7 separate regions of the Homo sapiens genome follow, and all the other regions are linked to region 1. The links are contacts of gene promoters, found by promoter capture Hi-C in blood cells and fetal thymus (Javierre and others, 2016). All regions are on one chromosome and are shown on one strand. The core of a region is centred on a gene start or on the middle of the fragment in contact, and the rest is flanking DNA. Distances in the headings are between cores, read along the strand shown. Region 1 holds the start of TTLL3 (tubulin tyrosine ligase like 3). Region 2 holds the start of GHRL (ghrelin and obestatin prepropeptide). Region 3 overlaps TATDN2 (TatD DNase domain containing 2). Region 4 holds the start of THUMPD3 (THUMP domain 3 tRNA guanosine methyltransferase). Region 5 overlaps THUMPD3 (THUMP domain 3 tRNA guanosine methyltransferase). Region 6 overlaps IRAK2 (interleukin 1 receptor associated kinase 2). Region 7 overlaps IRAK2 (interleukin 1 receptor associated kinase 2).

What was found. The method cuts DNA at HindIII sites, captures the fragments that hold promoters and counts their contacts. A CHiCAGO score of 5 or more calls a contact.
Region 2: the fragment with the promoter of GHRL here is called in contact with the fragment with the promoter of TTLL3 in region 1 in 10 of 17 cell types (activated CD4 T cells, erythroblasts, naive CD4 T cells and 7 more); the score reaches 10.3 in activated CD4 T cells.
Region 3: a fragment that was not itself captured here is called in contact with the fragment with the promoter of TTLL3 in region 1 in 13 of 17 cell types (activated CD4 T cells, total CD8 T cells, naive CD4 T cells and 10 more); the score reaches 10.4 in activated CD4 T cells.
Region 4: a contact is called between the fragment with the promoter of THUMPD3 here and the fragment with the promoter of TTLL3 in region 1, in 6 of 17 cell types (total B cells, naive CD4 T cells, fetal thymus and 3 more). The highest score is 10.2, in total B cells.
Region 5: a contact is called between a fragment that was not itself captured here and the fragment with the promoter of TTLL3 in region 1, in 1 of 17 cell types (neutrophils). The highest score is 7.1, in neutrophils.
Region 6: a contact is called between a fragment that was not itself captured here and the fragment with the promoter of TTLL3 in region 1, in 2 of 17 cell types (monocytes and neutrophils). The highest score is 6.6, in monocytes.
Region 7: a contact is called between a fragment that was not itself captured here and the fragment with the promoter of TTLL3 in region 1, in 4 of 17 cell types (total CD8 T cells, erythroblasts, naive CD8 T cells and 1 more). The highest score is 7.9, in total CD8 T cells.

What each region holds. Positions count from the first base shown.
Region 1 is chr3:9,808,084-9,812,439 of GRCh38, forward strand. It overlaps TTLL3 (tubulin tyrosine ligase like 3), which reads left to right and starts at 2,179. Exons shown (of 14, transcript NM_001387446.1): 1 at 2,179-2,311; 2 at 2,538-2,626. The coding sequence starts at 2,579. The region is part of intron 4 of ARPC4-TTLL3 (ARPC4-TTLL3 readthrough); the gene reads left to right. RefSeq lists an enhancer at 1,251-1,400 and a silencer at 1,881-2,360. The HindIII fragment of the contact is 3,571 bases long and covers 1-3,537 here.
Region 2 is chr3:10,290,658-10,295,013 of GRCh38, forward strand. GHRL (ghrelin and obestatin prepropeptide) reads right to left here and starts at 2,290. Exons shown (of 6, transcript NM_016362.5): 1 at 2,185-2,290; 2 at 59-794. It overlaps GHRLOS (ghrelin opposite strand/antisense RNA), which reads left to right. Exons shown (of 6, transcript NR_073568.1): 6 at 1,411-2,792. RefSeq lists enhancers at 1-536, 2,048-2,117, 2,128-2,377, 2,188-2,482. The HindIII fragment of the contact is 7,186 bases long and covers 1-4,002 here.
Region 3 is chr3:10,261,258-10,265,613 of GRCh38, forward strand. All of the region lies in intron 3 of TATDN2 (TatD DNase domain containing 2), which reads left to right. Among named protein-coding and RNA genes, the nearest start is that of TATDN2, 15 kb to the left of the region's middle. RefSeq lists a silencer at 2,678-2,867. The HindIII fragment of the contact is 1,822 bases long and covers 1,192-3,013 here.
Region 4 is chr3:9,360,573-9,364,928 of GRCh38, forward strand. It overlaps THUMPD3 (THUMP domain 3 tRNA guanosine methyltransferase), which reads left to right and starts at 2,482. Exons shown (of 10, transcript NM_001114092.2): 1 at 2,482-2,555. It also overlaps a transcript of SRGAP3 not described here. RefSeq lists enhancers at 2,212-2,421, 2,642-2,701, 2,772-2,851, 2,872-2,931. The HindIII fragment of the contact is 4,632 bases long and covers 1-3,070 here.
Region 5 is chr3:9,378,848-9,383,203 of GRCh38, forward strand. It overlaps THUMPD3 (THUMP domain 3 tRNA guanosine methyltransferase), which reads left to right. Exons shown (of 10, transcript NM_001114092.2): 7 at 1,656-1,771; 8 at 4,352-4,356. Among named protein-coding and RNA genes, the nearest start is that of THUMPD3-AS1, 16 kb to the right of the region's middle. The HindIII fragment of the contact is 6,287 bases long and covers 1-4,356 here.
Region 6 is chr3:10,208,781-10,213,136 of GRCh38, forward strand. It overlaps IRAK2 (interleukin 1 receptor associated kinase 2), which reads left to right. Exons shown (of 13, transcript NM_001570.4): 4 at 809-912. Among named protein-coding and RNA genes, the nearest start is that of TATDN2, 38 kb to the right of the region's middle. The HindIII fragment of the contact is 2,369 bases long and covers 1,050-3,418 here.
Region 7 is chr3:10,192,522-10,196,877 of GRCh38, forward strand. All of the region lies in intron 2 of IRAK2 (interleukin 1 receptor associated kinase 2), which reads left to right. Among named protein-coding and RNA genes, the nearest start is that of IRAK2, 30 kb to the left of the region's middle. RefSeq lists an enhancer at 4,204-4,356. The HindIII fragment of the contact is 326 bases long and covers 1,977-2,302 here.

The DNA.
Region 1 (4,356 bases), core at 929-3,428:
TCAAAAGGGATTCCTCCAGATGGCCAGAGGGGTTTCTTCTGATGGGGTGGACAAGGTGATGTTAAAGGGAGGAGGGGGTAAGGGCAACTTGGAACAGCTATTGCCCCCCTCCTCCCCCCCCCTTTTTTTTTTTCATTTTTGAGACAGGGTCTCGCTTTGTTACCCAGGCTGGAGTGCAGTGGCGCAAGCATGGCTCACTGCAGCCTCAGCTTCCCCAGGCTCAAGTGATTCTCCCACCTCAGCTTCCTGAGTAGCTGGGACCACAGGCCTGTGCCACCACGCCCAGCTAATTTTTTTGTTTTTGGTTTTTGTTTTTTTTTAGGTCTCACTATGTTGCCTCGGCTGCCTTGGGTGATCCCCCCGCCTCAGCCTCCCAAAGTGCTATCATCTCCTTTATGACATTACCTCTGTGACCTACCTCGCCACCCCTCTGAATTAGGTGTTCCCTCCTCCAGGGCACATGGCTATGTTCTAGCTTTGCAGTGAATGTTAAAGGTGCTCACAGTGAAACTGGGTGACTAATAGGATATAGCAGCTGGTCACTCAACAACCCTCACAGGACAGCATTGCCTGGGTGAGCCAGCCACAAACCTCATTTGTCATGTATCTCTCTCCCAGGGTCCAAATTCCCTAAATCACCTTTCCTGGGGGGCATGCTTTTCGGGAAGTCCAGCCATCAGCTAAAGGGGAGTTGGGGTCAGCTGGACAGGAAGGTGGGGGATCCACCTTCACTCTTAAGAGCACATCTACCCAGTGACTGACAAAGCTGGGCTCTTACCAGGACACTCTTCGACTCTGCCTGCGGGGGCACTGCTAGAGTTTGCCTCTCAAACTGTCCCTGTGTGGTCCTTCTGTGACTGGCAGGCAACCTGAGTGATAACAGGTGTTTAAGAGACAGGCTTTGGAGTCAGACCTGGGTTCCAGTGCTGCCTCTGCTCTGTGATTTGAGGCAAATTGTTTAACATCTTGGAGCCTTACCTCCCCTGTGACTTTTGAGGATAATATTTTGCCAGTGCTTCCAAAAAGGTTGCTTACAGTCTTAGCCTGGGGGCCAGGCATAACTGTTGTGAACTATTACATTTCTTTCGCAGTTGACTCAAATGATTGTTTTTCCATTTCCAGTTTCTGGGGAGGGTGTGCTCTGCACCTTCTTGTTACCCCCATATGCTGCCCTCGCTAAGGACCTTACCCTAGGCCCATCTGCCAGGCCCAGCAGGTCTGATCTGGCCTCACCAGGCTCCAGCCACCCTGGCTGTCTTGTAGTTCGCACAGAGGTTCTTACCCTTCTCAGGGCTGTTGCTGGGACTGTCCCTTCCCTGAAGTGCAGTTCCTCCCCTTTCCCTGGTGACTCCTGACTCCTGGCATTTACACCTTCAGCTTAAATGCGCCACTTTATCTAAAATGCGCCCCCTTCCTGGTTTCACCTCTGCTTGTTCATTGCCCTTATTATACCTGTAAACTATTCTCTTCCTTTGTTACTTGCTTTTTATTCCCCTCACACTGGGCTTTTAGTAAGCTCCATGAGGTCAGGGGCCATTTGTTAGCGCCTATAAATACTGTGGAATCACTCAAACCCTAGGGCCGGTGGCACCAGGAAGTACTGGATAAGGAACCGCAACACTAACTAACTGGGGCTCAGTGCTCTCTTCCGCCTTCAGTGCCCTGCTCATCAAGGGTCTGGGTGAGGCCCCAGGTCATAAGGAAGCCCTCGCTCGACTGCCCCGGGGCCCATCGCAGCCCCCAACCAGCCCCGAGCGGTCTGATGGTGCCCAGGGAATGGTTTCCAAGGCAATAGCAAACGGGGCGGGGCTTGGAACGGAGGACAAGGCTCGAGCCTAGGCAGGAACTTCCCGGGAGAGGAGGCGGCGACGCGGAGGGGCGCGGGATCAGGGGCCCTGGGAGGGCGAGCGCGGCGAGGGGCGCATGCAGGGCCCCGACGCGCCACTGCTCCTGAGCGCGAGGGAGCTGGGGCCCGGGCGCCGGGGCTCGGCCTCCTGGTACCGCCAGGAGGGCGGCGCGGTGTGCAACTGGCTGCGGAAGCCGCAGCCGCTCGAGCCACGCACCAGTTTCCCCTCGGCGCGCCGCTCCGAGTTCCGTCCACCCAGGAGGCTGCCATGGGCCGGCCCTGCCTCCGCCCAGTCCGAGGAGGGTCACGCAGGCGGCAGATGCCAGGCGGGCAGCCCCGCCCCTGCGCGCCGCCTCAGCGGCGCCTTCAAGACGCTGGTCCCAGGCACCCACGCCCAGGGCGCCTCGGATACCCACCCCCTCGGCCCCCCGCACACCCCGGTCCTCGACCCCTCTCCGCAGGATGGTGAGGCCCGTGCGGCCCGCTCGCTCTGGCCTACAGCGGCTGCGAGGACGACAAGACGCTGGGGTGGAGGGACTGGGGGTCGGGAGAAGAGCGGCTGAGGGTGGGCATCTGGATGAAGGCAGGAGGAAGAAAAGAGGCGTGGCTATGGGCGGCCAGAAAAGATCCTAGGCCGAGACCCTAGGCCCAGCCTCAGTGTACCCCGCCCCTATTCCGCATCTTTCTGCAGGTTTCCCGGTCCTCTGGCGAGGATCCTCCAAGGCGTCTCACATGAACCGGCTCAGAAACGCCAAAATCTACGTGGAGAGAGCTGTCAAGGTCAGAGGAGGGGCAGGGGCGCTTAGAAAGGGCCCTGGGAGCGGCTCAGCCTGTCTCCCTGCGCTGTTTTCTTATATCCTTAAAAAACAAAAGCAAAAGAAAAAACAATAGCAAAAATCCTCAACCACCACACCCATCTTCAACTACCTCCCCGTTTACCCCTTCAGCACCAAACTTCTGGGCTCCCTCCACTCTGGTTCCCTGCGATGTCCCACTCTAATCAAGGTGCCTGGTGAGTTCCAGGGAGCCAAACCCAGCAGTGCCTTTCGGTCTTGATCTCGGTTGGGCACCCTGTATCTTTCGACACCGCTGCCCCACACACCCTTCCTCTTGGCTGTCTGACTGCACGCTCCTAGTTTTCCTTTCTCCCTCTTTGGCTGCTGCTTTTCAGCGGCCTTTAAAGGTTCCTCAGCCATTAGTGGCCCCCTGGCCCCTTCCCCAGGTCTGTCTCCTTTGGCTGTGTCCTTGGCTGAGTCCAGTCAGTGTGCTGCACCCTCTCCGTGCCCCTTCCAGCCCAGCCTCGAACTCCACATCCCGTAGATCTAGCCCCTACCTGTCATCTACACCCAGAAAACTTAACAAGCATTTCAAATTCATGTCCCAAACCAGACTTTGATCTTCCTGCCCAAACCTGTCGTCCTCCCCAGTCTCCAGTCTTTCCCATCTCTCAGTTCCTCACGCCAGAAATCTCATCTTTCTGTTTCTTCACCCACAGGTCTAATTCCATCAGCAAAACCACTTGTCATCTCCACCTCCAAAACGATTCTCAACTCTAGCACCTTCTCCCGTCTGTGTTGTAACCACCTTCATTTTAGTAATTGTGATTTCTCTCCTAGGCAAACTATGACAGCCTCCTAGCTGGTCTACCTCCATCCTGTCCCCTCATCTTTTTGTAATACAGCAGCAAGCCAAGCTTAGAAAGATTCCCTCAGTTAGCCTTTTTTGCTCATGACACTCTTAGTATGAAATCCAAGTCCGTTCCAAGGCCTGCAGGGCCTTCCACAGTCTGGCCACTGCCTACCTCCTCTGGGGCTTTCCCCATCATTTTCCATGTTCCACTCACTCTGGTCTCCCTTCAGTTCCTTCTGACCTCTCTCCAGCCTCAAGGCCTTTGCACATGCATTCCCCTCTGCCTGAACCGCCATTTCCCAGCTCTGTACATTCATGGCTTCCTTTCAACCTTCCCTGACCATGTATTTCTAAGTAGTTTCTCTGGATCCCATTAAGTATGCAGTTTCTGGAGCCAAACTGCCAGGATGTAAATCCCTGCTCTTTTGCTTAACCACTATGGGGCCTCAGGCACCCTGCTTAATTTCTCTATGCCTCTGTTTCATAGCCCGTAAAATGGAGATAACAGTATCTAATAAAAATGCATAGTATTGGCCAGACGCGGTGGCTTACACCTGTAATCCCAGCATTTTGGGAGGCCAAGTCAGGAGGATCACTTGAGGCCAGGAGTTGGAGACCAGCCTGGCCAACACAGTGAAGCCCAGTCTCTACCAAAAAATATAAAAATTATTTGGGCACCAGATGAGGTGGCTGACGCCTGTAATTTCAGCACTTTGGGAGGCCAAGGCGGGCCTTGGCCTGAGGCCAGGAGTTCAAGACCAGCGTGGCCAATATGGTGAAACCCTGTCTCTACTAAAAATACAAAAATTAGCCGGGCGCAGTGGCACACGCCTGTACTCCCAGCTACTGGGGAGGCTGAGGCAGGAGAATCGCTCGAACCC
Region 2 (4,356 bases), core at 1,040-3,539, 480 kb after region 1:
AGCAGTCACGGACAATAAACCTGTCAGCAAACGCACACGGAGAGTAGAGAGAGCTTACCTGCAGTTCCTGGCGGAGGTGGTGCCTGGTGGCTGTCAGGTCCTTATATAGGATGACTGGCGTTTGTTCTAAACCAGCAACCCCATCCCAGAGGTGGCCTAGCTTCCGTGGGGCTGATGTACATTCCTTGGGAACTAAAAATGTTCTTGTCCTCTGGGTAGAAGTCAACAGTGGAGGTCAGATGCCCTGCGGAATTGCTGGGTTGGCGAGGGAAGAAGCATGTGCTCCAGCTGTCCCTGGAACACGGTGGCGGGGTGCCCCAAGTGGGCATGGCCCTGGTGGAGGAGGGAGGGAGGAGAGTGGCTCTGGGGTCTGGGTGCAGCTTTGTTGCTGTGTGACCTTAGCTTACTCGCCCTTTCTCCCTGGGTAAAATGAGGCTGTCATCACTAGGAGAGCTCTGAGACCTCCCCAGTCCAGCGCCCCGTTGTTTCCCATGTGCTGTTGCTGCTCTGGCCTCTGTGAGCCCCGGGAGTCCGCAGGGAGCCAGGCTGGTGATTCTACACCTTCCCGAGGAGGAGTCCCACCTCCCGGTTGAGCAGACTGCTCCTGATCATCCTCTCCAGAGAGTGGGTGTGGGGATAACTTCAGCCAGTGGCTATGCTTCAGTCATTTCTGCCAGGTGTGACATGACTGCCTGGCCTGGCGTTTTTTCACATAGCAGCTTGCCTTGCCTCCCTCCAGCAGCTTTGGTCCCTATTTTAGCGGATGCCTCTTCTGAGAGGGAAGTGCATTGGACCTGGAGGTGGAAGATCTACGCTTAGCACGGGCCTGGCTCCTCTCTCATTGACTGGCCTTACGCCGACCACAAATAATTCCCCTTACCCAGAGTCTTTGAGGGTGAAATGAGGCGATGGGGGGAAAGTGGCTTCTAACCTGTGAAACACCCTGCAGATGACAATGGTTTCATACCAGGCCCATAGGACTTCCCAGCATAGGCCAAGGCCACTGCCTCATTTCCCTCGGCCCCAGGAATTTCTTCCTTTCTGGAGTGCTTCATCCAACTGGGTGCCCAGGCAGGAACCCCTAAGGGCCAATGAGTTGTCTGCAGAGAAGTTCTAGCAGTTCAGGAGAGGAGCTCACCTTAGGCTGGGGCTTGCGGCAGGGATGTTAGCAAAGGCTCCAGGAAAGAGGCCTGTGGTGAACTCGGGGCAGGGCTTTGGAGGGAGGGCTTTGCGGCAAGCAGAGGGGAGGTGAAGGCGTGGGTAGAGTACATCAGGGCAGCATGGAGAAGGCTGGGTGGCTTGGGGGAGGGTGGCGATGGGGTCATAACAAAAACATAAGAAGGTGGTTTGGGGCCAGGTGATGGATGCCTTGGGAACTGCTAGCCCAAGAAGTTTGGGCTTTTTTTGCAGGAGGGCAGCCACTGAGGATTCTTGAGGAGAGAGAGACCATAGAATGAATGAAAGAGTTGGAAAGACTTTAAAGCTCTGGGAGGCTGAATCCTTTATTTCGCTGGAAGAAAAACTGAATGCCAAGAGGGCCTCACTTTCCCCAAAGCTATACAGCCATCAGGGGCAATGCTGGGATTCCCCCATGGATCTCTTGACTCCTAATACAGTGCTCTTTCTGATATGCCATCTGGCTCCATAATGAACATTGTGTTCCAGGAAAATCAGTCTGCGCTGAACAGGATGGAATTGGGGCAGGACGTCCAGTGAGGAGGACATTGAGGCAGTAGAGCAGTTGATTGCCGAATGACCACCTACCCTGACTTAAAAGATCAACCTCAGGGAGGATTGGAGCTTTCTAGAGTCTCTTGGGACAGCAGAAGCACAGGCCGGGTTGGACTGAATCTTTAAGTGGACATGAGGGACAAAGTACCTCCTGTTGGTAAACATCTCACCACCAACCCACTGTGGTGGCTAAAATCCCACCTTTAGTCCCAGCAACATATGAGCATGTCACCAGGAGGTCTTCACAGGCCTGTCTGCCACCTGAGTGTAGACATCTTTTGGCCCTGGAGCCCAGAGAGGCTGAATGTGGAGAGGGTGGAGAGAGGTCTGTAGTCCTCAGAGAAGACTTGCAGCTTTTTCAGAGCCACCAACCCATAAAAAAAAAAATCCCCAAACAGAAAAATCCTAACTGTGGTGACCAGGTACCTCCTGAGACATGAAGCCTCCACTTACCTGGACCCTGGAGGCCTCTCCGGGCACAGCTGCCAATGTTGATCTTAGATAAGACCACCAGCAAGTAAACATCCACTGTGCAAAGCTGTGTTATCTTTGGGGAACTGAAATGTCCCCTGGGAGTTGGAAACTCCCCTAGCCACATACCACAGAGTTGAGGAAGGAAGAGCTGATGGACGGAAGAACCATGGCGGGAGGAGTCATCCGGAAGCTACCTCGCTGCCCTGTCAGTTACGGAACAGAGGAGAGATGCCGGCTGGAGGACACAGCAAATTTGAACCAAGAGGAGCTTGGAGGAAGCCCGAGCGACCTGGAGGGGACTGGCTGACCTTCCTCATTCTTTTCAAGTGTGAATAATAACCAAGCCCAGTTTGGCAACTCCTTGAGGGTGAGGACGAAGCCCCATTCTCCTTTTTGGAACTTGGTGGGGCTCAGGAAGCAGGTTCTCTCCAGTCGGTGGCTTTCCTTTCTGTTGCGGGTCTCTTGAGGGCCTGCCTTCATGAAGGCACATGAGTGACTCATCATTTGTGAATTAATTGCTATATGTGAAGGGCATCTGAGAACAAATTATCTTCATAGACTTTTCATTATAATTTTATTTGTACTGATAATTAGTTGGTTTAGCAAGCTCTTTTTTCATAGATTTGGCTAAACTTCAGTCTGAAAGAGGCAAATTCTGGGGTTCTAGAAAGAGATTTTATTCTTTGATATAGGGCTATTTGGTGGGGTTGCTTTTTGTCCTAGTTGTAGCTTTTATAATTTCGAGATTCACATTTTGCAATAGAAATATACAGGCATACCTTGGAGGCATTACAGCTTTGGTCCCAGACCACAATGAAGCAAGTCACACGAATTTTGTTGGTTTCCCAGTAAATATAAAACGTATGCTGATACCATACTATAGTCTAAGTGTGCAACAGCATATGTCTAAATGAATATACATATATATTTTTTTGAGACAGGTTCTTGCTCTGTCACCCAGGCTGGAGTGCAGTGGCACTATCATGGCTCACTGCAGCCTCCACCTCCCTGGACTAAGATGATCCTCCCACCTCAGGCTCCCAAGTAGCTGGGACTACAGGTCACACCACCACACCCAGTTAATTTTTGTATTTTTTGTAGAGACAGAGTCTTGACATGTTGCCTAGGCTGGTCTTGAACTCCTGGCTTAAGTGATCTGCCTGACTTTGCCTCCCAAAGTGCTGGGATTACAGATGTGTAGTCTTTGAAATCCAGTGTGTGTTCTTACAGTGCATTTCAATTTGGACTAGCCATGTTTCAAATGCTCAGCAGCCACATGCGGCTCATTCTAGATAGGCGGCCATCGCTCTTAAATCCTCCCTGACCTTAGCCATGCTCTCTCATCCCTCCTCTTCGCCAAGCTCTGCCTCTCTCACTGGGGCTTCCCTAGCCTCCGGCCATCTTGGGGCCAAAGCTCTAACACTTTGCCTCTCTCGTGTCTTCTGTTCCCCTCCAGTGGCTTCTGCTTTCTGCCTTAAAATACACCCAGGTTCCTAATCCTGAAAACGTCTGTTGTGCACCGATCCCACCCTCCCCTCGTGTTACCATCTCCATTTCCTTCCCCTTTCCTTGTGTCCTCTTCTTTGCTGTGTCCTGGCCCCTCAAAACTTGACCTTGCCTCTCATCCCCACTGCTGTACTGAAACTGTTGTCTCAGCGTTGCTGATCATCCAGCCTTTTAGTCTATGGACCGCTAAGAGCCATAGGACGACCTCAGGGTGGGACGTGGCTTGGAGGGCCATCTCGTCTCAATTTCCAGATACAGACCTGTGTTGGGTTGTGTTGGATTCATGAGGAAAGCTTCATAAGTTTTATGCACGTTTATAAGACTCCATCCTTGGATTCTGATCCAGTAGCTCTGGCGTGGGGGCTTTAGAATCTGTTTCAAGTATCTCAGGTAATTTTGATTATAAATTACCAAGTATCCCAGGTAAATTTTGATTATAAATGCTTGCTTCCAGCAGAAAATATAAACATATGGAAGATGAAATCTTTCTCTCTGAATAACCCAATTCAGTTTCCACTCGTGAATATCTTATATAACCGTAGTACATTTATCAAAATTAAAACACCAGTGTTAGCACATTACTGTTAATCTCCAGACTATTTGTAAGTCACCAATTTTTCCATTGTCCCATCTGTTCTTCCTTTT
Region 3 (4,356 bases), core at 853-3,352, 450 kb after region 1:
AGACTTGTACCTGGATAACCAGAGAAGAAGGGAAGGATGTCATTGGACGGAAACTAGTGATTTTTAACATAGCTTATAATTGAGGGGAAGCATTCCTCCATCTTTTTCTTTTTTTTTTTTTTTTTGTTGTTGGGACAGAGTCTTGCTCTGTTGCCCAGGCTGGAGTGCGATGGTGCAATCTTGGCTCACTGCAACCTCCACCTCCTGGGTTCAAGCAATTCTCCTGCCTCAGCCTCCTGAGTAGCTGGGATTACAGGTGTGCGCCACCAAACCGGCTAATTTTTGTATTTTTAGTAGATATGGGATTTCTCCATGTTGGCCAGGCTGGTCTCGAACTCCTGACCTCGTGATCCACCTGCCTTGGCCTCCCAAAGTGCCGGGATTACAGGCATGAGCCACTGTGCCAGGCCACATTCCTCCATCTTACTCGTCTCCACCCATCCTTTACTACTGCTCTGCAGGCAGCTTCTCTCATCTTTAGCTCTTTCTTCTAGTACTTACCCCATGTTTCTAAATAATCTTTACTGTTGATCAGTTTTTCAGTTTTAGATGTCTGAGGACTTCTTGCTTGGGCGATGAGAATTTAGTTCTCTATACCTCCTTCAGAAGCACCCACACCCAGGGACACATTAGCTTCCCCTTTCTGCAGCCTCCCTGTGTGGCTTGAATACCTTTTGGGTTAAGTCTGTGTAAGATTTGTTACTGCCATGTTCACAGCTGAGTCGCCTTGTATACTCTGATCACATTTTCTTTCTTGTAAAACTTCATTTTCCTTAAAGTTCATCATTACTTTGTTTTTCCTTTGGTTTTCCTGGTACCTTTCACTAATTAATCCCCAAACTGCGAGAGCTGTAAAATCCTTCTCAATACTGTCAAAATAAGGAATCTGTTTCTTTTTTTTCTCTCTTGGAGGTATACGTCCTCAGCCCTCTGTTGTCCTGCTCTGGTCTGGACTGCCTGCCGTCAGGCCAGCTGGCAGCTGTCTCTCTGGAGCCTCCTTCACATTTCTCCCGGATTGAGTCTTCTGCTACCTATACTCTGTGTCTTCTCATGTTCTTCTTCCTTGGTTTACTCTCACATTTTGGTGGAATACTTTTTCTAGTAGCTTCTTGAGAAAGGGTACATGGAGAAACTTTTTTTGGTAAACATGTGTCTGAGATTGCCTTTATTTTACCTTTAACCTTGATTACAAGCTTGGTTGGTTTTGGAATTCCAGGTTGGAAATTGTTTTGTTTGGGATTTTGAAGGCATTGCTCCTTTTCTTCTGGGCTTTTTTTTTTTTTTTTTTTTTTTTGAGGTGGAGTCTCGTTCTGTCTTGCCCAGGCTGGAGTGCACTGGTGTGATCTTGGCTCACTGCAGCCTCCACTTCCTGGGTTCAAGTGATTCTCCTGTCTCAGCCTCCCGAGTAGCTGGGATTACAGGCACACGCCACCACACCTGGCTAATTTTGTATTTTTGGTAGAGACAGAGTTTCATCATGTTGGCCAGGCTGGTCTCAAACTTCTGACCTGAGGTGATCCACCTGCCTAGGCTTCCCAAAGTACTGAGATTACAGGTGTAAGCCACTTCGCCTGGCCTCTTCTGGTTTTCTTGATGTCTGAAGCTATGCTGGTTCCTGAACCTTGGTATATGATTTTTTATTTTTTATTTTCTTTTGCTTTGAGACAGAGTTTTGCTCTGTCACCCAGGTTGGAGTCCAGTGGCGTGATCTCAGCTCACTGCAATCTTCACCTCCCAGGTTCAAGCGATTCTCCTGCCTCAGCCTTGTGAGTAGCTGGGATTACAGGCATGTGCCACCACACCCGGCTAATTTTTGTATTTTTAGTAGAGATGGGGTTTCACCATTTTGGTGAGGCTGGTGTCGAACTCCTGACCTCATGATCCGCCCGGCTCAGCCTCCCAAAGTGCTGGGATTACAGGTGTGAGCCACCGTGCCCAACCTGTATTTTTTTTTTTTTTCCCTCTGTGGAATCTTGTAGAATATATTTTGATCTCAGGGCTCTGAAATTTCATGGTGGTGGTGTCTACTTTGCTTAGCATGGGACATTCCCTTTCAATCTAGAAACCCTTGTACTTTAGCTGTGGGAAAAGTTCGTGAATTACTGTACTTCGCTGATGTTTTCTTTCCGTATTTTTCTTCTCTCTTTCTCTCTCTAGCTTCTCTACCTTCTTTCTCTTATTTGGATGTTGGATTTTTCAGGACTGGTCCTGTAATTTTATTGCCTTTCTCCCTTGTTTCTAGCCAATTTCTTGCTTTACTTTGTAGGATATTTCCTTTTCTTTATCTTCCAACCCAGCTGTTTATTTAGTTTTACTTTTCTACTGTCATGCTTTTTATTATCCAAGAGCTCTTTTGTTTTTTAATAACATCTCTGTTCTTGTTTCATCTTCTGTTATCTCTTTTAGGGAGTTCATGGTAGTTTTTTGGCTTGGTTTTAGTTTTCTTTAAGTTGCTTCTTTCCGTTTCTTTTGATCTCTTCTGTGTTAGAGGCTGCCTTCACATGTCTGGTAATCTTTGGTTGTCTGTTTATGATCAAGAATGGGAGGATTAAAAAGCTGTTTGGAAGCTCTGAGCGTAAAGACTTTGAGCTTTGCTTTGGGATGATCGGGAGAATATAACCCTCTTCCCCTTGCCATGTCACTGCTTTTAGGAAAGCCTCGAGACTGGTCACCTTGCCCAGAGGAGTGTTTTTCAGCCTGCTTAGGAGGAAAGGTGGCTGGGAGCTGGGTAGCGAAAGGGGCGGCTGCGGGGGCGGCGTCAGCATTCACTTAATCTTTGTCTTTTTGGTGCAGTACCAGTGCCCTCCACTGAGCTGACCAGGCCTTATTCTAGAGATCCTCTTGTTTTACTGTCTTCAAACAACTCACCTTCTCTGAGTATGAGGAGGGAATCTGGGATCTAACTCATTGGAAACCAGATTTCACCCTGTCCTCCTCCTTTTAATGTTCTTCTGTAACTCCAGTTCCTCCAGTTCCCAAGGTGCCCAGTACCGCGAGTGCCTGCTCTGTTCTAAGCTTTCCTGGTGCCTAGCTTAGGTCTCAGCCTTCTCTTGGTCTGCCAGTGAGGTGTTATTTGGCCATCTGCTTTCTAGCCTCCAGTGCGTGATCACTGTAGTCTCTTGTTCTTCCTGTTCTGGTGTTTTTGTTATTGTAGAGGGGTTTTATTTGTTTTTTGTTTGGTTTTTAGATTCTTTAGTTTTAGTGAGGTTTCAGGAAAGAGTAAAATAAGTCGAATTTGTTCAGTACATCCTTAGCCTAGAAAAGTTCTGGGAAAATTTCTTGATTATTTGATTTCTTGTCTGTTTCTTCTTTTTCTGGACCATCTATTTTATGCTTGGTCTTTCGGATGGAAATTCCAATTTTCTTTTCTTCCCAGTGAATCCTTTTTAAAAAATTTTTCTGGATGGTTTCTTCAACTTTATCTTCTTTTTTTTTTTTTGAGATAGAGTCTCACTCTGCCACCCAGGCTGGAGTGCAATGGCTTGGTCTTGGTTCACTGCAACCCCTGCCTCCCAGGTTCAAGCGATTCTCCCGCCTCAGACCCCTGAATTGCTGGGACTATAGGCGCATGCCACCATGCCTGTCTAATTTTTGTATTTTTAGAAGGGACGGGGTTTCATTTTGGCCAGGCTGGTCTCGAACTCCTGACCTCAGGTGATCTATCCGCCTCGGCCTCCCAAAGTGCTGGGATTACAGGCGTGAGCCACCGCGCCTGGCTCAAGTTTATCTTCTAACGTTTATGTTGATTTTTTTTTTTTGGTCTTTTTTTTTTTTTTCCTGTGCGTGGTTTTTTTTTTTTTTTATTGCTGCCAATTTTTTTTTCTTTTTTGTCTTTTTGAGACAGAGTCTCACTCTGTGGCCCAGGCTGAAATACAGTGGTGTGATCTCAGCTCACTGCCACCTCTGCCTCCTGGGTTCAAGCAATTCTCCTGTTTCAGCCTCCTGAGCAGCTGGGATTACAGGCATGGACCACCATGCCTGGCTAATTTTTGTATGTTTAGCAGAGACAGGATTTCACCATGCTGGTCAGGCTGGTCTTGAACTCCTGACCTCAGGTGATCCACCTGCCTCGGCCTCCCAAAGTGCTAGGATTACAGGCATGAGCTACCACGCCCGGCCAGAACTTTAAAAATTAAAAATTTTAGCTGGGCGTGGGGCTCATGCCTGTAATCCCAGCACTTTGGGAGGCTGAGGCAGGTGGATCATGAAGTCAGGAGATCGAGACCATCCTGGCTAACACGGTGAAACCCCGTCTCTACTAAAAATCCAAAAAAATTAGCCAGGTATGGTGGCGTGCACCTGTAGTCCCAGGTGCTGGGGAGGCTGAGGCAGGATAATGGCGTGAACCTGAGAGGT
Region 4 (4,356 bases), core at 1,232-3,731, 450 kb before region 1:
GAGGTTTAATGGATTTACAGTTCCATGTGGCTACGGAGGCCTCACAATCATGGTGGAAGGTGAAAGGCACTTCTTACATGGCGGCAGCAAGAAAGAGAATGGGAGAAGCGGAAGTGGAAACCTCTTATCAAACCATCAGATCTTGTGAGACTTATTCACTACCACAAGAACAGTATGCAGGGAATCACCCCCATGATTCAATCATCTCCCACTGGGTCCCTCCCACAATATATGGGAATTATGGGAGTATACTTCAAGATGAAATTTAGGTGGAGTCACAGAGCTAAAACATACCAGGGCATATATCATTTTGTATTTTCATCAGCAATGTATAAGTGCTCCATTGCCCCACATACTCATTAGAACTTGGAACTGTTGATTTTTTGTTTTTTACTTTTAGTCATTTTGATGAGTATCCCATTGTGATTAATTTGCAATTCCCTAATGACTAATGATGTTCAGCATCTTTTCATGTGCTTATTGGCCATTTGTCCATCTTTTGGAGAAATATCTATTCAAGCCCTTTACATATTTTTCATTTTATTTTTGAGACAAGGTCTCACTCTGTCACCTGGGCTGAAGTGCAGTGATGTGATCATAACTCATTACAGCCTCAACCTCCCCAGCTCAAGCTATTCTCCTGTCTCAGCCTCCCGAGTAGCTGGGACTACAGGTGAGTGTCACCATGCCTAGCTAATTTTTGTCATTTTTTTGTAGCGACAGAGTTTTGCCATGTTGCCAGAGCTAGTCTCAAACTCTGAGCTCAAGCGAGCCACTCACCTCAGCCTCCCAAAGCGCTGGGACTACAGGCATGAACCACCACTCCCAGCCCCTTTGCACATTTATAAATTGTGTTCTTTTTGGTTTTGTTTTGTTTTAAATTCGGTTTATCTTTTTGTTGTTGGGTTCCTTTCACAATAAGTTAACTTTTGTCAACTGAAAAATAAAAATAAAATTCTATGCCCCCCAACTGACTGAACAGGCCCTCTCTTGGCCAAGGAGACCCTAGAAAAAACTTGGAAGCTGAGTTCCTACTCATGACAGGATGGGAAGTCGGACACACCTCTTTATAACCCCTCCCTCTATAATCGCCATTAGATTTTCTTTCCTAAGGGTTAAACAGAAACCAGCCCTTTTGAAAGACTCACTCCACCAGCCTGATGCTGACCCTCCCATTTGCAGTTTCAATAGAACAACCGACTAGCATTCCTTCCTGATAAGAGATCACCCACCATCCAGGGAGTGGTTCTGGCCAGTCGACAGAGGACGTGCAGTGAGGGTTTTCACATCCCCTGCTTCACCTTTTGAAGTCAAGCGGTAGAAAACTCTACCCTTGGATCATGCTAAGGCCACCATTTTTTAAACATGGGATCCACAGAGAGGCATGAAGCTCAACTGCACATGCACAAATTGCTCCTTTCATAAATATTCGTGACCCCTCTTACAGTTTATTTAACATGTATATTTGGCCACTGTGTTTAGCATAAATCCCTGTCTTATTCTTCCAACCCTGGAAGTGCCTGTTTTTGGCTTCTGACTGGAAGCTAGGCTTCCCAGTCTGTCAAAATGGCTACCATGCAGGTTCAACTCTTTTTTTTTTTTTTTTTTTTTTTTTTTGAGATGATGTCTTGCTCCCAGACTGGAGTGCAGTGGCACAATCTTGGCTCTCTGCAACCTCTGCCTCCTGGGTAAGCAACTCTTCTGCTTCATCTTCCCAAGTAGCTAGGACTACAGGTGCAGGCCACCACATCCAGCTAACTTTTGTATTTTTAGTAGAGATGGAGTTTCACCATGTTGGCCAGCCTGGCCTCAAACTCCTGACCTCAAGTGATCCACCCGCCTCAGCCTCCCAAAGTGCTGGGATTACAGGCATGAGCCACTGTGCCCGGCCAGGTTCAACCCTTTATGAGAAATAAAGTTCATCTGATTGGGCACAGTGGCTCATGCCTGTAATCCCAGCACTTTAGGAGGGCTAGACAGAAGAATCACTTGAACCCAGATGTTCGAGACCAGCTTAGGCAACATAGTGAGCCCCACTATTTCTATTTTTTTTAAACTAAAGAAAAATATGAAGTAAACAGTGCTAAAATAGTGATGGCAATACAGAAATCAGGAACTAGTGGCATGACATTTTGAGAAAGATATTTAAATAAGCTGGAGAGACTCGGTGTCTCCAGCTTTAAAACAGAAATCAGTCTCTGCCACTTCATAGGTGCTAGAACAAAAGAGACTTGTTCCAAATGAGATGACGCATGTGAAGCGCTTACCCAGTGCTCGGCAAGGGGAAGCACTCTCTAAACGTTAGCAAATACCATGGTAGGACACAAGGCCCCTGACTCTCCGCTTTCAGCTTACTGAAGATCCTCAAAACCAACAGCACACAGCTTCCAGCGCATGCTCCTTTCCCCAAGACCTTGTGGGGGAACCCGCCGCCAGCGCGGAGCCACCGTGACTCGTAGCCTGACTTCCGTTTCCGGGGGCGGCTTCCGGCGGCGTGACCTGACCGCAAGAGGCCAATGGAGTGTGGGAGCTGAAAGGGTCTTCGCTGGCGGCCGGTAACTGGCGGCGGTTGGGAACGGCCGAGTGTGGCTCTTCTGGTGTTTCAGCTTGGGGAGAGAGGGGTGGCCTTCCTCTTGCAGTTGAGGCCGGCGCCGAGCCGGACTTCAGGCGGATCTCGTGGCGGAGCCCATCTTGCTCCCTCTCCCAGGCCTTTACCCGCTCCCTAGGATTCCCGGGCCCTGTAGGTGGGAGTTGGGAGACGTGAGTTCTCTTTCATTCTGCGCCTCTCATTGGCTCTCTGACCTTGTGCGGAACGCGTCCTTTAGCTGACCTCAGCTGCATTTTTTAGAAGATGGAGATTGTATTCACAGTGACTGTCAGCTTTTTAACGGCGGGAACTGACGTAGTGTTAAACACTGTCGTGTATCGCTGGCACAGCACAAGGACATTATAGGTATTCTGTACTCAATTAAGTTATTTTGAGTCACAGACCTTTTGAAAATCTCGTGTAAGCTATGGCCCCTCCACCTCTCTAATACTTCCCCCGGCCCCCACCCCAAGCACACACAAAAGCTTATGCATAGGAAATTTGTTTTACTATTTCGGATTACTTCCAAGATCTCTCTCCTGATGCCCATCTATGGATCCCAGAGTCTGGCAAGTAGTAGGCGTTTGAACATTTGTAATCATTAGATAGTAAGTATTCAGTTAACCATTTTTATTTTTAATTTTTTCTTTTTTTTTTTTTTTTTTTTTGAGACAGGGCCTCACTGTGTCACCCAGGCTGGAGTGCAGTCCTCCCACCTCAGCCTCCCAAGTAGCTGGACTCCAGGCGCCCACCACCACGCCCAGCTATTTTTTGTGTTTTTGGTAGAGATGAGATTTTGCCATCTTACGCAGATTGGTCTCGAACTCTTGGCCTCAAGCAATCTACTCACCTCAGCTCCCTAAAGTGCTGGGATTACAGGCATGAGCCAGTGTGCCCAGCCCAGTTAATCATTTTTAAATGCATGAAATGCTATTTCACAGGAGGGAAGAAGATAGATAGCCTATTAATAAGTTTTAATTATTGGCCTAACCAGGTACTACTCTCACTTGTCTCCTAACGACTCTAGGAAAGAGGTATTACTAATTACTTAATTACATTTGAAGGTTTGGGAGAATTAATTTGCCATAAGTCATTCAACCTATGATGGTGGAGGCAAGAATTCAAACCTGTATCTATCTGAAACTCCAAAAGCCCCATATTATTATTATTATTATTATTTATTTTATTTATTTATTTATTTTTTTGAGACAGAGTCTTGTTCTGTTACCCCAGCCGGAGTGCAGTGGCATGATCTCAGCTCACTGCAATCTCCACCTCCCGGATTCAAGCAATTCTCCTCCCTCAGCCTCCCAAGTAGCTGGGATTACAGGCTCCCACCACCACACCTGGCTAATGTTTGTATTTTTAGTAGAGACGGGGTTTCACCATGTGGGCCAGGCTGGTCTTGAACTCCTGACCTCAGGCAATCTGCCCGCCTCGGCCTCCCAAAGTGCTGGGATTACAGGTGTGAGCCACCACGCCCAGCCAAGCCCTATATTCTTAACTAACCATGTTCTTAACATCTAGATGCAGAAATGGATTTGAATGTGATCTGCAGTTTCTGTCGTAGTTATGAAATGGCTTTTGTCAACATGGGTTACCCCAAAGCAAACATTGCATGCTATGGAAATACTTCTTGTCTCTTTTTCTCCCATGGTATCTGTATTGCTTCTTTAATAATAACATCATGTTTTACAGCCTGCACTCTGTGCCCATGTTTATTCAACCCTTTTTACTTTGGTGACTGTTTATCAGATGTGTTGCCTTGT
Region 5 (4,356 bases), core at 1,384-3,883, 430 kb before region 1:
GGGAAGAAAGCAGAGTGTTGTTTTCTAGTATGAAATCATGATATGTGTATGAAATAGCAGGTAAGGTCACCGCATGTCAAGAAATACACAACAGAGCTCCGAGTAAAAATAAAGGCCGAAAAAAATTAAAACATGAAGTTTGAGCCATTTCCATGTAAGAGTAGACATGCAGATGTCAATGTAGAAAAACCTAAGCCGATATATGATCAAAATGAATAAAATTATGAATAAATTGACAAGGTATATATAAAGATTTGTTCACCAAAGTATAAAATACTTGATCTAGAATAATTTTTTTTTTTAATTTAGAAGTGTTATGCTATAAAACCCAATTCTTTCCAATGCTGAAAATCCAAATAGGTTTAGGAAAAAAAAAAAAGAATATTTGGGAATCGGAATCACTGAGAGCCTTCCTCAAACTCTAGGTCCCCTCTACATCCCCACCCACCCAAAATTCTGGGATACTTCAACTTCCCTTTTGTTTGATGTCATCGTAGGATTGTAGACAGGGTATGTTATCACCCTCAAGTGTCTGGGCAAAAGAAAAAGTTATGAAACACTGCACTCATGGATGAGAAGTATGTTACTGTTCACAAAGGAACACAAAGGTGTTTGCTACTCACCCCTAAGCAGAGGCAGACCTTTCCCGGCTTTCGTGTCAGAAACCTTCTGTTAATCTGCATAGAACATTGTTCAGGCCTAGGGTCACGTCACCTCATTCCACAAATGACATGTGACAGCTTGGTATTTATGTTCTGCTGACAGGTTTTTTATTTATAATTACAAAATCCTTCCAGTGATATGGTGGTTACCATTCAAAAGCCTATCATACAAAGGAAATTGCATTTTACTATTATTTTTTTGACCTGGGGTCTTGCTCTGTCAGCCAGGCTGGAGTGCAGTGGTGTAATCTCAGCTCCCTGCAACCTCTGCCTCCCTGTCTTAAGCCATTCTCCCACCTCAGCCTCTCGAGTAGCTGAGACTCAGGTGCACACCATCACACCCAGCTGATTTTTGTGTTTTTGTAGAGATGGGCTTTCACCATGTTCCCAGGCTGGTCTCAAACTCCTGGGCTCAAGAAATCCTCCTGCCTCAGCTTCCCAAAGTGCTGGGATTTCAGGTGTGAGCCACCATGCCCGGCCGGAAATAGCATTTTATTTTGCAATTTTCAAATATATCAGATTATGTAAACTCCCACAACCACAAATCTCAAATATTTTCAAACCGCATTAACTTAGAATTTAGTGTGCCAGACACTGCTGGATGAGGAACTGAATAAAATACTAGACCTGACCTCAGAGAGCTCCCAGGTTAGTTGAGAGGCATAAAGGGGAAGAAATAATTAACCGTGGGACAAGTGCAGTGGCAGAGGTACGTACATACAAAGTGTTTTTGGGAGGGGCACATAAGACTGCTTGGAGAGTTAAGGTTGATGTTGAAAGGGCATGAGGTTTGAGCTGGGTCTTAAGAGATGGGTAGAGGTTCAGCAAGCAGAGAAAGAATAAGAGGGCATTTTCAGCCAGGGAAATAGCACAGTTGACAACATGCAATGTTTTGCCACTCTAGAAAAGCACTGGATTTTCTTTGTTTGTTGACAATTTAATCATATTTTACAGTTTGCTACTTTTGTTTTAACATACACTCTTATCTTTTAGGGGGCCACTGAATGGTCTGACTGTTTCCATATTGCTGGTGATAATAATCCACTGGCTGTGAATAGAGCAGCAAATAACATTGCATCTTTATTGACCAAGAGCCAAATTAAAGAAGGGTAAAAATTTAAAAGATTTCTTAGCATCTTTTAGAGTTAGAGAATCACTTTTTATATTGACTTTATGAATTAAAACTCCCAGTGCATTGTGACGTCATTGTAACCAAAATGAATATACTATGAGACTCCATTTACATTTTTAAAGTTTATTGAAAATAAGTTATATTTTTAAAATATTATTTTAGCGATAATTTCCCCACCATATGCAATTTTTCATTTGTCTTATTCATATGTCTTTTCCCCTACATATTGGAAGAATATTTTATAGACTCATTTTAATTTCACAAAATTTTAAACAGTATATTTTTACATAGGCTTCTTTTTTGCTTTGGGTACAGGGTCTCATTTTGTCACCCAGGCTGGAGTGCAGTGACATGATCATGGCTCACTGTAGCCTCAACCTACTGAGCTCAAGCAATCCTCCTGCCTTGGCCTCCCTAGTAGCTAGGAATACAGGCATGTGCCACCATGCCCAGCTAATTTTTTAAAATCTTCGTAGAGATGGGGGTCTTGCTGTTTTGTCCAGGCTGGTGTCAAACTCCTGGCCTCAAGAGATTCTGCCGCTTCAGCCTTCCAAATTGCTGGGATTAGAGACGAGTCACCACACCTGGACCATAGTCTTTAAAGTCACTACATAAATTCCATCGTATAGAAATACTGCAGTTTATATAGCCTCGCCTCTATTTTATTACTAAGTCATTGGTTATATATTTCATTGTCTCTCTGATCTAATTTTTTAGGACAGTGCTTCTCAAACATTAATGTACATGTGAATCACCTAGGAGTACTGTTAACACAGATCTGATTTAGTAGTTTGGGATGGGACCTAAGAGTCTGCATTTTCCAGGAAACTCCAGGACAATGCTGATGCTGCTGGTCTATGTATCAACATTAAATCCTTTTACGTGTATTAAGACAAGTAGTTGGAAGGCTTCAATTTTCTTAAATACTGATTTATTGTGATGAATTAATTTTGAATGGTTGTTTCATATTTATTGAGGGTTTTTTTTAATGAGCCTAGTATATGGCCAGTCTTTTTTTTTTTTAATTAAAACTGATAAACATTTAAACAAACGTACCTTTCTAGCTTCTGAATATTTTATCTTGTTTGTACCTACACTGTCTGTTCAACCCGTACTTTTTTTTTTTTTTTTTTTTTTTTTTTTTTTTTTTTTTTTTGAGACGGAGTCTCACTCTGTCGCCCAGGCTGGAGTGCAGTGGCTTGATCTCGGCTCACTGCAAGCTCCGCCTCCCGGGTTCACGCCATTCTCCTGCCTCAGCCTCCCAAGTAGCTGGGACTACAGGCACCCGCCACCATGCCCGGCTTATTTTTTTTTTGTATTTTTAGTAGAGACGGGTTTTCACCATGTTAGCCAGGATGGTCTCAATCTCCTGACCTCATGATCTGCCCACCTTGGCCTCCCAAAGTGCTGGGATTACAGGCATGAGCCACTGTGCCCGGCCTCAACCTGTACATTTCTATCCATTTTACTTTGGTTTTTAATATTTTTTGCCTTTTGTTTTGTGCAGTTATTGGTATGCGGTTATAATACATATTTTATGTGTACTTTTAAAAATTATGTAATGATTGCTTTTATTGCATTTTTTTCTTAAATTCTTCATTAAATGTCAATTAAATCCTTAATTTCTGCTGATAACCTTTGACTTATCTTCAGTTCTTAGCCTGTGCATTATTTTGTTTCTTAAACCAGTTGCTTTGCCTTAATGAGGAGGATTTAAATCCTTTGTATTTATTATTATTCATTCTGTCTTCTGTCATCTATATTTTTTATCTTAACTTTTTTCTTAGTCTTGTTTTATATAGCATGGCACATATTTTCCTTTTGGTTTTTCATCTTGAAACAATTACCTATATATTTGCCAATTTTACTATCTGTTTTTCTTTTAGGCCTCCTGTTATTACTAGTTTTACAAACTTTATTCTTCAGATACATCACCCCATTATCTATTCTTTAGTATTGTTTTTCTCCAGTGTATGTTTTATCAGCAACTTAAATTTTTGTATCATCGGTTATGTAATTTACTGCTTCAGCATTGTTTTTAAAGTTGTCTTTTGCAGTTCTCTGCATTACAATCATGTTTTCAGTTTGTTTCCCTTTTTTCTGAGACGGGGGTCTTGCTCTGTCACCCAGGCTGGAGTAAAGCGGCACAATCCTAGCTCACTGCATCTTTCAACTCCTGGACTCAAGTGATCCTCCCACCTCAGCCTCCTGAGTAGCTGGGACTATAGGTGTGTGCCATCATGCCCTGCTAACTTCTTAAAAAAGTATTTTAGAGACAAGGTCTCACAGTGTTGCTCAGCTGGTCTCAAATTCCTGGAGTCCAGTGATCCTCCCACCTCAGCCCCTGAAAGTGCTGATTATAGGCACAAGCTACCATGCCCAGCCTGACCTATTTTTTACCTTTGTGCCATTTCTTAAATTTTGAATAGGTTGATATTATCACTGATATCCTTAGCAGTTTATGTTTTGCTGTAGCAGTCTCTCTTCAGAAACAAAAATTGTTGTAATAACTTTATGCTTCACAGTATGTTGAAGCACCTTTCCTTTGTCCCCACAGCAAAC
Region 6 (4,356 bases), core at 984-3,483, 400 kb after region 1:
AAATCTTTTGTAGAAACGGGATCTTGTCATGTTGCCCAAGCTGATCTCAAACTCCTGGGCTGAAGCAATCCTCCTGCCTCAGCCTCCCAAAGTGCTGGTATTACAGATGTGAAGTATTTAGAACAGTGCCTGGCATGATGTTTGCTAACTCATGTACCTAGATGTTAACTTACTCCAGCCCCGGGCCCTTCTACTGCCCCACCTCTGCATGGGCTGGTTCCACTGCCCCATATCTGCTTGTTGAAAACGTTTCTCCATATTTCAAGCCCAGGTCAGGTGCCACTTCCTCTGTGAACCCTCCTCATCTCCCAGCCTGTTATGGTCTCTCCTGCCTCTGACCTCGCTCTCCCGTGGGATGTATCCTCGGAGGATAGTTACTGCATCCCTGCCCTGGTGGAGGTTTCTGGAAGGCAGGCTTGGTAGCTAGTTCACCTCTGTGTCTTTTTCTGCTCTTTGAGTAGGAGGTGAGATAGTGCAGGGCCTAGAAGTCAAACAGATTTCCGTCTGAATTTCGGCTCTACCATCTACTGGCTGGGTGGTCCTGAGCACTGCGTCTACCTCCGGTGTCTCCGTGTCTCCACTTGCCAACTGGGATGATAAACAGGCCCCAGGTTGTAGGGGAGTCAGAGGCTTATCCTGAGGTGATGCTTGAGGAGTGTGTTGGTTGGCACATGGTGGGTGTCAGGAATTGGCAGCAACAAGTGTTTGGGGAGTGAACAGGAGACTGGCATAGTCTGAGGACTAGACCAGGATCCCTCCTGTCTTCCTCCCCGAGGCTGCATCCTGACCCATAGTCCCTCCTTTCCAGGGTCCTCTCCAGCCAGAGCCCACCAGCCGGCCTTTCTCCAGCCTCCTGAAGAAGATGCCCCTCATTCCTTGAGAAGCGACCTCCCCACTTCGTCTGATTCAAAGGTAAATCCACCCCTCGGCTGCAGCCCCCAAGCCATGTCTCCCAGCGTGTAGTTCCCTCTCAAAAATGCAATTTCTCTACCCCTTGAGACCAGTTTAAGGGTGGAGAGGAGAAAGGAAATTGCCATCAAATTACCCCAAGCTTCTAAGACTGTAAGTAGAGGAGGTCAATAATAGCGGGGAGAGGGAGGGAGGGCACTTCAGTGAATATACTTCTTGTTTTTTAATTTGTTATTATTATTATTTTTGAGACAGAGTCTCGCTCTGCCACCCAGGCTGGAGTGCAGTGGCACGATCTCGGGTCACTGCAACCTCCGCTTCCCGGGTTCAAGTGATTCTCCTGCCTCAGCCTCCCAAGTAGCTGGGATTACAGGTGCATGTCACCATGCTCGGCTAATTTTTTGTATTTTTAGTAGAGACGGGGTCTCACCATGTTGGCCAGCTTGGTCTCGAACTCCTGACGTCAGGTGATCCACCTGCCTCCGCCTCCCAAAGTGCTTGGATTACAGGCATGAGCCACTGCACCCGGCCATTATTTTCTTTTATTATTTTATTTTATTTTCGACCTGTGGTCTCAGCTACTTGGGAGGCTGAGGCGGGAGGATGGCTTCAGCCCAGGAGGCAGAAGTTGCAGTGAGCTGTGATCCTACCACCACATTCCACCCTGGGTGACAGAGTGAGACCCTGTCTCCAAAAATGTATGACCATATTGGTACGAAGATAAATAAAATCCAAGCAGGATTAAAAATGAGGACATTTCTTTGACTCTAAAAGTCCATTTATTTTCTTCTGATTTTAAAATAAATTAAAATGTTCTGATGGCCCCTAAAAGTGTTGTGAGCCTAGACCCTTTGCATCCAGTGCCTGGGGGAGAAGCCAGCTTTGCATGAGTGTGGTTAATGAAGCTCTTCCATGTCCCAGGTGTGGTGTCACATGCCTGTAGTCCTGGCTATTTGGGAGGCTGAGGTGGGAGGATCGCTTGAGCCCAGGAGTTGGAGACCAGCCTAGGCAACACAGGGAGGCCCCATCTCTAAATTAATAAATAGATCAACCTTCCATGAAGGATAAACCCAACACTTTGGGAGGTTGGTATGGGAGGTTCACTTGAGCCCAGTACTTTGAGACCAACCTGGGCAACAGTGTGAGATCCTGTGTCTACAAAAAAGTTTTTTTTGTTTTTGTGTTTTTTTTGAGGAGTCTCGCTCCATTGCCCAGGCTGGAGTGCAGTGGCACGATCTTGGTCACTGTAACCTCTGCCTCCCAGGTTCAAGCTATTCTCCTGCCTCAGCCTCCTGAGTAGCTGGGATTACATGCACATGCCAGCATGTTTGGCTAATTTTTTTTTGTATTTTTAGTGGAGACAGGGTTTCGCCATGTTGGCCAGGCTGGTCTTGAACTCCTGGCCTCATGTGATCCGCCCACCTCAGCATCCCAAAGTGCTGGGATTACAGGCATGAGCCACCGTGCCTGGCCAAAAAGTTTTTTTGAGACAAAGTCTCCCTCTGTTGCCCAGGCTGTCTCGACTCACTGAAACCTCTGGTTCCCCAGTTTAAGCGATTCTCCTGCCTCAGCCTCCTGAGTATCCGGGATTATAGGTGTGTGCCACCACGCCTGGCTAATTTTTGTATTTTTAGTAGAGACACGGTTTCACCATATTGCCCAGGCTGGTCTTGAACTCCTGGCCTCAGAGGATCCGCCTGCCTTGGCCTCCCACATATGGTGAGATTACAAGCAGTGAATCACTGTGCCTGGCCTCGCCAAAAAAAAAAGTTTAAAAAATAAGCCAGGCGTGGTGGCACACACCTGTAGTCCCAGCTACTTGGGGGCGCTGAGATGAAAGGATCCCTTGAGCCTGGGAGGTTGAGGCTGCGGTGAGCTGACATCATGCCATTGCACTCCAGCCTTGGTGTCAAAGTGAGACCCTGTCTCAAAAAGAAATCAAAACTATGTGTGTGGCATGATACCAGTTTTGTTAAATAAATCCTAGTATATCTAATTGGCCGGAAATACACTAACTTTAATAGCAGTTAAATGGATAATGGGGTTATGGATACTAATTTTCAAAAACTGTTAAGAGCATATGTAACTTAAAAAAATTGAAATTTAGGCCGGGCGCGGTGGCTCGTGCCTGTAATCCCAGCACTTTGGGAGGCCAAGTCGGGCGGATCACGAGGTCAGGAGATGGAGACCATCCTGGCTAACACGGTGAGGCCTCATCTCTACTAAAAAAATTACAAAAAATTAGCCGGACAGGGTGGTGGGTGCCTGTAGTCCCAGCTGCTCGGGAGACTGAGGAAGGAGAATGGCGTGAACCTGGGAGGCGGAGCTTGCAGTGAGCCGAGATCACACCACTGCACTCCAGCCTGGGTGACAGTACGAGACTCTGTCTCAAAAAAAAAAAAAAAATTACGTACATGTGTTTTAAAGAGAGAAGTTATTAAAAACGGAAACAGAACTTCTTTTTATAGGCTTATATACACATGCAGTCTCTGGAATTCTGTTTAAAGCAAGCTTGTCTTACTTGCCCATGGTTGTGTGCAGCCCAGGATGGCTTTGAATGTGGCCCAACACAAATTTGTAAAGTTTCTTAAAACATTATGAGTTTTTTTTGCAATTTTTTTTTTAAAGCTCATCAGCTATCATTAGTATTAGTGTATTTTATGTGTGGCCCAAGACAATTCTTCTTCCAGTGTGGTCCAGGGAAGTCAAAAATTGGACACCCCTGGTTTGGTTATATGAACCTGTATCCTACTTCCCAGGAGTCTGGAACCCCAGTATCTATGCTGTGAATTAGACCAAGAGTGCTGAGCTCGGCCACTGACCAGCTGTGGGACCTCACTTCAGCTGTTTTATTTCCTCAGTGCTTACTTCTGTAAACTGAAATAAAGGAAACATCAACCATGTGCCAGGAATACTCACATCTTAGTCTTCAAAATTACTCTTCGGGGTACTATTGTTACCTTCATTTTTGCTGATGGAAAAAATTGAGGCTCAGAGAGGTTAAGTAACTCACCCAAGGTCACAGAGCAAGATACAGATGGAGCTGGGATTTGAGCTTGGGCCTATCCATGTCCTTTTTTTTTTTTTTTTTTTGAGACAGAGTCTCGCTCTGTCACCCAGGCTGGAGTGCAGTGGCGCGATCTCGGCTCACTGCAAGCTCCGCCTCCTGGGTTCACCCCATTCTCCTGCCTCAGCCTCCCGAGTAGCTGGGACTACAGGCGCCCGCCACCACGCCTGGATAATTTTTTTTTGTATTTTTTAGTAGAGACGGGGTTTCACTGTGTTAGCCAGGATGGTCTTGATCTCCTGACCTCGTGATCCGCCCGCCTCGGCCTCCCAAAGTGCTGGGATTACAGGCGTGAGCCACCGTGCCCGGCCTATCCATGTCCTTTTTACAGTTTCCATTGGATAAGTTGATCCCCTCCATCCCTCCATCTCTGGTGTTCC
Region 7 (4,356 bases), core at 890-3,389, 380 kb after region 1:
GCTTCGCTTTCTTCAGATATAAGACAACTACCTTATACTTGGTAGCAATTATCCCCCAGAGCTGTTACCTGAATTAAATAGGCCACAGATATGGGCAAGAACTTAGGAAAAAAAGCCTGACCTAGAGTTAGAGTGGTCATTATAATAACAGTAGTAGGAGGCCAAGGCGGACGGATCACCTGAGGTCAGGAGTTCGAGACCAGCCTGGCCAATATGGCAAAACCCCGTCTCTACTAAAAATACAAAAATTAGCCGGGCGTGATGGTGTCTGCCTGTAATCCCAGCTACTCGGGAGGGTGAGGTAGGACAATCGCTTGAACCCAGGAGGCAGAAGTTGTAATGAGCAGAGATCGTGCCACTGTACTCCAGCCTGGGCAACAGAGCGAGACTATAGCAAATGATGGTAGCTTAGATCTGCTGGGTGTTAATTTTTTTATCCTCATGGCTGGTCTCGGGTCGGGGGTCCACTTCCACATCTCATTTGTCGGATGAGGAAGCCAAGGCTTAGGAGGATCCCCCTGCTGGTGAGCCTGACTGCAGGACACACTCCAGACTGCGGGAGTTCATTTGCCTTCCGTGGCATCAGTGATTCATGCTCATTAGGAAGAGCACAGGCATTCCGAAAACAAATCAGAGAGAAAAAGAAATCATGCCTGGCAACCAGCTCTGGTGAACCATGACAGGGGCACAGAGAAGCGCTTCTGCCCCTCCCCCATTTCCTCCTTGTATCTGGGACTCAGCCCTCATCACTGTGGGTTCTCAGCCTCAGCAAGGCAGCTTTCACGGATATCCAGATTCCAGGCTGGGTGCAGTGGCTCACACCTGTAATCCCAGAACTTTGGGAGGCCAAGGCAGGTAGATTGCTTGAGCCCAGGAGTTTGAGATCAGCTTGCGCAATATGGCAAAACCCTGTCTCTACCAAAAAAAAACAAAAACAAAAACAAAAACAAAATTAGCCTGGCGTGGTGGCGTGCTCCTGTGGTCTCAGCTACTTGGGAGGCTGAGGTGGGAGGATTGCTTGAACTTGGGAGGTAGAGGCTGCAGTGAGCTATGGTTGCACCAGTGCACTCTAGCCTGGGTCACAGAGCAAGACTCTGCCTCAAAAACAAAAACAAAAAATCCAGACTCTGTCTGAGAACTGCCGTGTCAACCTTCTGGTGCCTGTGGCCACCTAAGCTATAGATTAGCTGTTCCTTCCGTCACCTGCGTCCCCTTCCTATCCCTGGGGGTCCCAGCAGGGAGAACCCTGGGCTGCCCACCTCCAGTGTGTGACTGAGGCTGGCTGCCAATGGCGTGGGCACAGGCCCCCACCTCCCCTGCTGCTGGGCTCCTATGTTACTTTGCTCTCATGGCCACTGTACCTCTCGGGACTGTGCACCAAGTTGCTGCCCACCTAGAATCGGTTTCCATTAGAGTGTTTAAAATGTTAAAAATAGCCTTCCACCCTAAATGCTTCCTTCGGAGGCCCGAGTTGGGAATCAGAGGTTCTTTTCTATCTGCACCTTTCTGGCAGAACTGAAGGAGGGTGGCTGTTTGCACAGTGTTGTGGGCCCCTGCCCTGGGCCAGCCACTTCACATTTGTCATCATGGAGCCCTGGGACGGCCCTGGGAGGTGTGGGGTTATTATTCTGATTCCACAGGAGAGGCGCATGAAGCTCAGAGGGTTAGGAGGTCTGTGCCTGGGCGTGAAGCTGGAATCGCAGAGCTTGGGTCTGGCTCAAGCCAGAGCCGACGCTTCCCCACGCTTACTCTTGTGATCCTAGTTCTACTCTTTGATCACAGTCTGTGTTTTTGGATCTCATGATCCTGCAGAATCAACTTTATGTGTGGAATTCTCTTGAGAATTTAATCCTGGGAGGAAAGAGTGCTGTCTTGGAAGCCTGAGGCTGCCCCTGTCTATCTGTGATAAGAAGTCCGTGAGCAGCTCACTCCTGAGCCTTGGCCTTGGCAGATAGGAAGCTCAGTGCGAGAGTTAAAGCTTGTCACAGCCCTTTCTTGTAGGCATTTGGCCTCCTTTGCCTCATCCTGCCTTTGGTGTTCTATTTTTATTTCACTAGCTCTCTGGTGTGCCAGCCTGAATGAGTGGGCGTTGCGTCTTTCTAGCTAGCAGGGAGCAGGTTTGGAGGGATGAGGACAGAGGCCATTTTCTCCATCTTCATGTTTGGACAGTGGGACAGGCATGCATGGGCCTGCCTGTCCACCCAGCTCAGACCATGCCGGCAGCTCCAGGGTGGAGATGAGGGCGGTTCATGTTTATACGCACCATTTATTGCTTGCATTTTAAAGACATCTAAAAACTCAAAGCTTGAGAAGATGGGGGTTTCACAGGAAACCAGAACTTCTTGTTGGGGCTGACATGGGGCTCTGTTGGCTTACATCCGTGGCTGGTGTGACCTGGTGCCTCTTGTGTGGGAGGGTGGATGTTAGCCCCAAGTGTGCTGACAGGTCTGGTCACAGGTAGCCCTGCCGACACCGCCCCTCCCCATCTGTTCCTCACTCCTGCTCACTTCCAAATGCCCTGTGGTGCCAGGTGGGGCCACCGCATGTCACTGCAGAAGGAACAAGAAAAAGAAAGAGAAAAGCTGGACTCTCTTTAGGATGAAAACATAATGACATTTTTTATCTTCCCCACGGGTGGAGCCCACAGAGGTCGGCCACAAATGGGTTGGTGGCCTTGATGTTCCTGCCAAATGTGTTTTGACAGAGAGGCAAAGATTTGTGCTGAACAAAACATTACCCTGAATAGGACACTGGACTGGGAGCAGTGGCTCAGGCCTGTAATCCCAGCACTTTGGGAGGACAAGGTGGGAGGATCACTGGGGCCTAGGAGTTTGAGCCCAGGCTGGGCAACATAGTGAGATGCTGTCTCTACACAAAATTAAAAATTAGCTGGGCGTGGTGTTGCCTGTAATCCCAGCGGCATGGGAGGCTAAGAGAGGAGGATAGCTTGAGCTCAGGAGTTTGAGGCTGCAGTGAGCTGTGATCACACCACTGCATAGCCTGGGTGACAGAGCAACACCCTGTCTCAAAAAAAAAAAAAAGGAACAGGACACTGAAGTTAAGTAAGGCTGTAAGTATCACCCTCATCCCCGTTTTACTGTGATGAGAACAATGAGGCTCAGCCAGGCAGGCCTCCGACAAGGAGAAGGTGCCTCATTTGCTGGGATCATGGGCGGTTCTGGGTGTAGGTGAGACCTTTAGGGAGCATTTTATACTGTTGCGGGCCTGGCCTCTGCAGGAGGTCACTGTTGGGAAGTGACTTCAGCGAGCCCAGCCGGCCCTGAGCCAGGGGAGCCACTGCTGCCCTTTTGACACAGATGTCACAAGGATGACAAGCCTTTCCAGGAGCATAAGCCCCACTTGAGGCAGTTTGAGGAGGGAGGGTGGAGGGAGAGAGGCAGTCTCTCCCTGCCAGAGAGGGGAGGCTGGGAAAGATGAGGACTGGGAGTGGCGGGGGGTAGCCTTCCAAGGGAGCACAGGCAGAGCTTTCACTTCTGTGCACCCTGGGAGCGACAGCTCTGTTCCAGACCCGTGCTTGAATCAGCACTCACCCCGACATTGTTCATTGTCATTCTGTACAAGGGACTGGTTTTCTGTTGTTGTTGTTTTTTGAGACAGAGTCTTGCTCTATTGCCCAGGCTGGAGTGCAGTGGCACAATCTTAGCACACTGCAGCCTCCGCCTCCCAGGTTCAAGCGATTCTCCTGCTTCAGCCTCCTGAGTAGCTGGGACTACAGGTGTGCACCACCACGCCTGGCTAATTTTTGTATTTTTAGTAGAGACGGGGTTTCGCCATGTTGGCCAGGCTGGTCCAGAACTCCTGACCACAGGTGATCTGCCCTCCTTGGCCTCCCAAAGTGCTGGGATTATAGGTGTGAACCACTGTGCCCGGCCTAGGGACTGTTTATTCTCCTCCTGGGCCTGTGGAAGGCAGTGGGATGCCATGAGGCAGACAGTGATCCTGTGATTCCTGCAGGCAAGGCCCTTGTTGGAGAGAAACTGGCTTCTAGACTCCGAGTTTCAGCCACAAAGGCCTTGGCCTGATGGCAATCAGGATGGGGGGGTGTGGCCTATAGAACCACTGAAGTGCCCGTGGAGCCCAGGTTGGGAGAGAAGTGCATGTTCTCTGGGTGCCCTTACGTCAGTGGTTCTGGGAGGAGACCCCGCCTTCCTGCCTCAGTGCTGCCTGCCTCCCTGTTTCCCTTGGGCAGGTCTTGTTCCCCGCTGAGCCTCAGCTTCCTGACTTGAGATCTCCAGGGTTGTGGGGAGGGTGCTTGAATTGAACGTATCAATACACAACGTGGACATTCGTTGGTGAAAAACAGAAGTGAGGTGGATCTGAATCTCATGAAGGGCT